Linked DNA regions of Homo sapiens: region 1 is linked to region 2. Evidence: promoter capture Hi-C in human tissues and cell types (Jung and others, 2019). All regions are on one chromosome and are shown on one strand. The core of a region is centred on a gene start or on the middle of the fragment in contact, and the rest is flanking DNA. Distances in the headings are between cores, read along the strand shown. Region 1 overlaps MYEF2 (myelin expression factor 2). Region 2 holds the start of SLC24A5 (solute carrier family 24 member 5).

Region 1 (2,811 bases), core at 287-2,786, 44 kb before region 2:
TGTTAGTTCAGAATGTATTTTTGAAATTTTACTGAAAAGTTAAATTTGGTAGCCTGCAGGACTACATGAGAGGCAGTGCTCTGACCAATTGGTATGAATGACATTTACGATTATATTGACGTAGAAGGAATTGGTTGATAGTATATTTTGATTTTTAGCAATAAGAATGCAGTATACTGAAGAATACAATGGAAAACTCTTAGCAATGTTTCATTATGTTAGTAAAACTAGTTGGGTGCATGATGAATAAAAATTTTGTCATTACATTCATATGGGACTTTGAATGGCAATCACAGGGAATTATTTTTTAAATAACTCTCCAAATTAATTTATTATTAGTTTATAGATGATTTTTACATACTTCCAACTGGGTGCTGTTAAATGTGCAGCCAGTTTTAATCTAATAGAGAACTTGTTAAAAATAAAATTAATATTTATTCACTATTTTGATTTTAATAGAGTTGAAAAATATGTCGTAGACAATACATTTTTTGAAAATATTTGTAACTACAGAAGGATAGGTCTATTGGAGCCTTTAGTTATTTCCTTGAATTCCTGTTGATTTAATTTGTGCAGTGACATTAATTTTAACTTAATGAAAAGTCACCTAAAAGTGAAAAATGTGCTCCAAGCTTGTTACATGTTAGAGTCTACTATCTTTAATAGATATATTTAAAAATTTAGAGAAAATTTGTGGTTACTTGCCTGTTATGTTCTGGAGGTATAAAAGATGAAGTGATTCTACCATATTATTAATTGCCTTAATGATTGAAATGTTAGAACTGATTATTAACTTCATGTACTGATCTAAAACTTTTTTTCTTTTGCATATTTTGACAAATCTACCTGGATATAGGGTTGTGGGTAAGAAATTTTTTCTTTAAGTATCTTAAGTCAAATTAAACTTTGGAAAAAAATTAGCACATAAACATTTCCTATAAATTTTTTCCCTATTAAGTGTGGTTGAATTCAAAGATGAAGAATTTGTAAAGAAAGCCCTAGAAACTATGAACAAATATGATCTTAGTGGAAGACCCCTTAATATTAAAGAGGTAAGATTTCTCATATTTAGAATTTAAACATTTGACTATAAAGACATGTTTTCCTTGGATTTTCAATTTGGTAATATATTTGCCTGACTACAACTTTTTTTTAAAACATAGGTGTTCATTAAAGCATTATATATTGACGAAAGTTTTACTTGTACATGATTTTATATTTGCTGTTAAGCAGTTATCCTATATACTTGATTGGTTCCAAGTTGTTAAAAATAAAAGCACATAATTTAAAAAAATTTGAGGACCTAGAAATTCAAAGGGGATAAACTTTAGGTGCTAAGTTTATTTGGTACAGACATTTTCAATATTTAGATTTTGTTATTTGAGAAATATAATATCCTTGTAATTGATAATTAAAGGTCACTTAATGCAAATATGTTATGGATTTGAATAAAATTGATATTCACTTTTTATCAGAGTTACTTGGAAACTGTACTAGATTAAAATTTAAGAAAAATTATAACTTTGTTAGTGAAATTTATAACTAGAAGTTGGAATCCCCTAAAATGGAAATGTCTTCTTTGTACAAAATTGTAGCAGTGTAAACAGGTTGACAAAAAATGACTAGAAGATACAAACAAAAAATTTACAGTTTAACCTTGAGAATGATTGGCTTGAATAGCACTCATCTTCATAGGTTCCTTTATTTTGTATTGTTAATCTTAATAGTTTGATTACAGACCTGTTATGTACATATACTTGCTAAAGTCTGTGTTAAAAGAGATAAATAGTGTAACTTTGGGACCCTGAAGATTTTGTACTAATACTGATGCTAATCATTGGTTGTAGAGCAGTACTGTCACCCATGGCATTTAATAGTATACTAATGATTTGATTCCTGGCTTTATCACTTTCTAGTGGGTGTCTAGACATGCTACTTAATTTCTCTAAACTGAAGTAATGGTAGTAGTACTACTGATAATAGAGGCATACCTTGGAGCTATTGTAGGTTTGGTTCCAGACTACTGCAATAAAGCAAATATAACAATAAACTGTGTCATATGTATGTTTTGGTTTTGCAGTACACATAAAAGTTACGTTTATACTATATTCTGTTTAAAGTGTGCAATAGCATTATGTCTAAAAGCACAATATACATGCCTTAATTTAAAAATACTTTATTGCTGAAAATGCTAGTGATCATTTGAACTTTCACTGTAACCTTTTTGCTGGTGGAGAGTCTTGCCTCAGTGCTGATGGCTGCTGACTGATCAGGGTGATGGTTACTAAAGTTTGGGGTGGCTGTTGCAATTTCTTAAATTAAGAACAATGAAGTTTGCTGTATCAGTTGAGTCTTCCTTTCATAATAGATTTCTCTGAAGCATGTGATGTTGTTTGATAGCATTTTACCTACGGTTGAACTTCCTTCAAAATTGAAGTCAGTCCTCTCAAACCTGCTGCTGCTTTATCAATTAAATTTATATAATATTCTAAATCCTTTGTTGTCATTTCAACAGTGTACATAGCATATTCACCAGGTGTAGATTCCATCTCAAGAAATGACTTTCTTTGCTCATACAAGAAGTAACTCCTAATTTGTTTAGGTTTTATCATGAGTTTACAGCAATTTATTCACATCTTCAGGATCCACTTCTAATTCTAGTTTTCTTGCTCTTTCCATCACATCTTCAGTTACATCCACCATTGAAATCTTGAAGCCCTCAAAGTCATCCATTAGGATTAGAATCCACTTATTCCAAACTCCTGTTAGTATTGATATTTTGACCTTATGAATCACAGATGTTCTTAATGA
Region 2 (3,116 bases), core at 27-2,526:
AGAAAAATAATAACTGCCGGGTTCTAACTTGAAGAAACTCTGATTCACATTAACTACCAAGAGAAACCACACTCGACCAGTTCCTTAAGACACGGGACCCCACAACAAGAAGCTGGTGCTCTGCAACCAGTTGAGAAGTACAGGACAGCTGCTGAGCTATTTCAAAGACAGTCATATCTGTGTGGCACACTCTCCCAGAAGGTTACAGGGCAACTTTCCAGCCACTTACATTCACTGATGATTTCCAGGGAGGGTAGGAAGTATTCATCACAGACAATAGATATGGCCATGAACATGTAAACGATAATTAGGAAATAGATTATGATGCCTCCATCTCTGCGCTCCTGTCTCGTGAAAAACCCTTCGGGAAACTCCGATGATGGAGAAATAACACATTGGGTGCTATTTCCTGTTAAGGAAAAGGAGGTGAAAGTTTGAAGAGTTTGGAGTCACACATTCCAAGCCCACAGAGAGCTTCCTTAAGAAATCTGTAAGTGTGGGGTAACCGGGTGGAATTTTAAGGACCCACTGAAAATGTATAAAGCGCTTCTGAATATAACACAGTTGTAGAGTTTTCAAAAAATTTTTTTGGGGGACTGAAAAGAGATATCTTAATGAAATATGTTGATGATGGTGAAGAATTAAAAAGAGGAAATCATGAAATCACTCCTCCTTGTTTTTATTTCTGAATCTCTCTTCCCCAAGTAGAAACTGTATCTCTGATACATGAAGATTTCTATTGTTTATACAATTTCGTTTTCTCATTGCAGAGCCTAAATTGTTCACAGGCCTGCAAAGAATCCATCCACTGTTGCAGAGAGAATTTCTAAGATGAAAGATTTTTTGTTTTCACCAAAAAGTCTCCAAGAACAAAAACTGGAGACTTGGCCTACTATGATCTCTGTGAATTACTTTGGAGTATATTTAAGAACTTATTTGAAGGATCAAAAGTGTTTGATATCTTTTTAAATGCTAAAATTCAGAAGCGTAAGTAAAAGTGAGCCCATTGAGAATTTTCCTCTTTTTGTCCCTTCATCTGTATGTGGTAGCAGCAGCAGCAGCTGCTGCTGCAGAGCTAACTGACCCCAATGTCCACCTACCTGTGGCCCTTGGGAGACGTTGGGGCAGGGAGGTCCCTGAGAGAGGCAGATGTGCAGTGGCCCACAGGATGCCGAGCAACAGAGCCCTTCTCGCCCATGTTTGGCCCCCTTTTGTCTGCATTTCTGCTGTGCTCTTACTGCAGCGTGCAGCTTCAGGAAGGGAGAAGAGGAGGATTAAACTGGATCATGTGAGGAGTCTCCTTCCTGCCCAATACCCTGCCCAGGGCACATCTCAGCAAGGCCAGCACAGGAGAAAGGGCGAGTGTAGCCAGTCAAGCTTCTCTGATCAGGAGACCCAATCTCCAGGGAGGCCGGAGGAGACGGAGGAGAGCTGACAACCATTGTCTATAGCTATTTCCATGGCCTACAGTCTCTAAGGGCAGATTAAGGCAGCTTGTACTTTATGAAAATGTGTGGTTTTATTTAATGTCTTCATACTGGCTCTGCTTTTGACTTTCTCTAGATTTGTAAAAAGTTGGGTTTGCAACTGCTTCCCATCTCTCTCCAGCCCTTTCCCCTAGAAGTTGTTTGGGTTGATATTAATATATGTACATGCTTTGGCTAGCTCGGCATCCTTTCATATTTCTGTTTTAGCCTCTCATCTTCATCTTCAGTTAGGGCCAAAGGGAGAAAGGCCAGTTAGGGCATCATTGCAATCGTCTAGCTGAGAAATGATAGTGGCTTGAACCAAGGCTGTGGCAACGGGGATGGAGAGTAGCTGACAGTTTCAAGAATTATTGAGATGGAGTGGATGCTATTTGATCATTGATAGGCTGTGCTTTCTGCCAGAGGGAGCTATCTAAAATGCAAATTTGACGTACAAGGTAGTGTTTAAATATAGACTACTATCTTCCCTATGCTAACATTTATGAGGCTTGCCAAGATATTTAGAACTTTTGGCAGTGTAGTAACCTATAGCTAATAGCACAGGCTATGGAACCAGACCACATGATTTGAGCCCTAGCACTGCTACTTACTAGTTATGTGACTTTTGGCATGTTATTTAACCTTTCTGCTACACAGTTCTGCTATCTGTAAAACAGGGATCACCTGTATTTGGGTTGTGGTAAGAATTACAAAAATGAACGCAAATAATTTGCTCAGAACGACCTCTGGCTGACGTCTTCATTCCTTCCTTTCTTTTTCTTTGTTTTGTTTGTTTTCCTTCCTTCCTCCCTTCCTTCCTTCCTTCCTTCCTTCCTTTCTTCTCCTCCTCCTCTTTCTCTCCTTCCTTCCTTCCCTCCTTCCTTCCTTTCCTTCGTTCCTTCTTTCTTTCTTCCTTTCTTTTCTTTTCTTTTTCTTTCTTTCTTTCTTTCTTTCTTTCTTTCTTTCTTTCTTTTTCTTTCTCTTTCTTTCTTTCAATTGAAATAGAAGCGTTTTTGTTCATAAAAATTTTTGTAGTTTTGCAACTTTCATGGTTCCTTTGCTTTGCAGAAAAAACACAAAAATTGATATGCCTAGTAAGTTTTCTATTTAGAAACTAGCTTTATCTGATGGAACGGAGTAAGTTGCTTCCTGATGTTTGTGATCTTGGGTCGGAAGAAAGTCTCAAAAACTACTTTTTTTTGTGGGAATTGGTATCCATTATAAACCTCTCCAAAACTGTCATTTCTAGGAACTAGATATTCAGATGTATGGTGTGATTGTGAGGCTGTGATGATGAGTCACCAAAGCATAGCCCAGTATAGAGCAGATTCTCAACAAGCAGAGTTCCAGCTGTCTACACTCGCAGGAAGCAGCACCCTGATCACTGGGGAGTGGCCTACATGCCAGCTAGCTAAGACTAAGGGAAGAGGTCGTTTAGTTTTATGCTGAGTGGAAGTGTCTTGCGAGCCTCTCCTCTTCAACACACAGTACTTCAATCAATTCATAAAACATCATAAACAAATAAAATACCAATAATATAAAAAGCTCAAACCCAAAGTGAAAGCTTCCAATGCACATTGTCAGCTAATTCAAGAGAGAGAGCAAGTGTCTGAAGGTACGAGCCAATTGCTATGGAACAGCAGAAGTGCC

Evidence for each region. Contacts are between HindIII fragments. The study calls those that stand out against the background at their distance.
Region 1: a contact is called between a fragment that was not itself captured here and the fragment with the promoter of SLC24A5 in region 2, in 1 of the 25 tissues and cell types used here (dorsolateral prefrontal cortex).

The regions. Positions count from the first base shown.
Region 1 is chr15:48,164,174-48,166,984 of GRCh38, reverse strand. It overlaps MYEF2 (myelin expression factor 2), which reads left to right. Exons shown (of 17, transcript NM_016132.5): 4 at 857-864; 5 at 959-1,052. Among named protein-coding and RNA genes, the nearest start is that of MYEF2, 13 kb to the left of the region's middle. The HindIII fragment of the contact is 6,022 bases long and covers 1-2,811 here.
Region 2 is chr15:48,119,150-48,122,265 of GRCh38, reverse strand. SLC24A5 (solute carrier family 24 member 5) reads right to left here and starts at 1,276. Exons shown (of 9, transcript NM_205850.3): 1 at 1,101-1,276; 2 at 230-409. The coding sequence starts at 1,221. The HindIII fragment of the contact is 7,987 bases long and covers 1-2,204 here.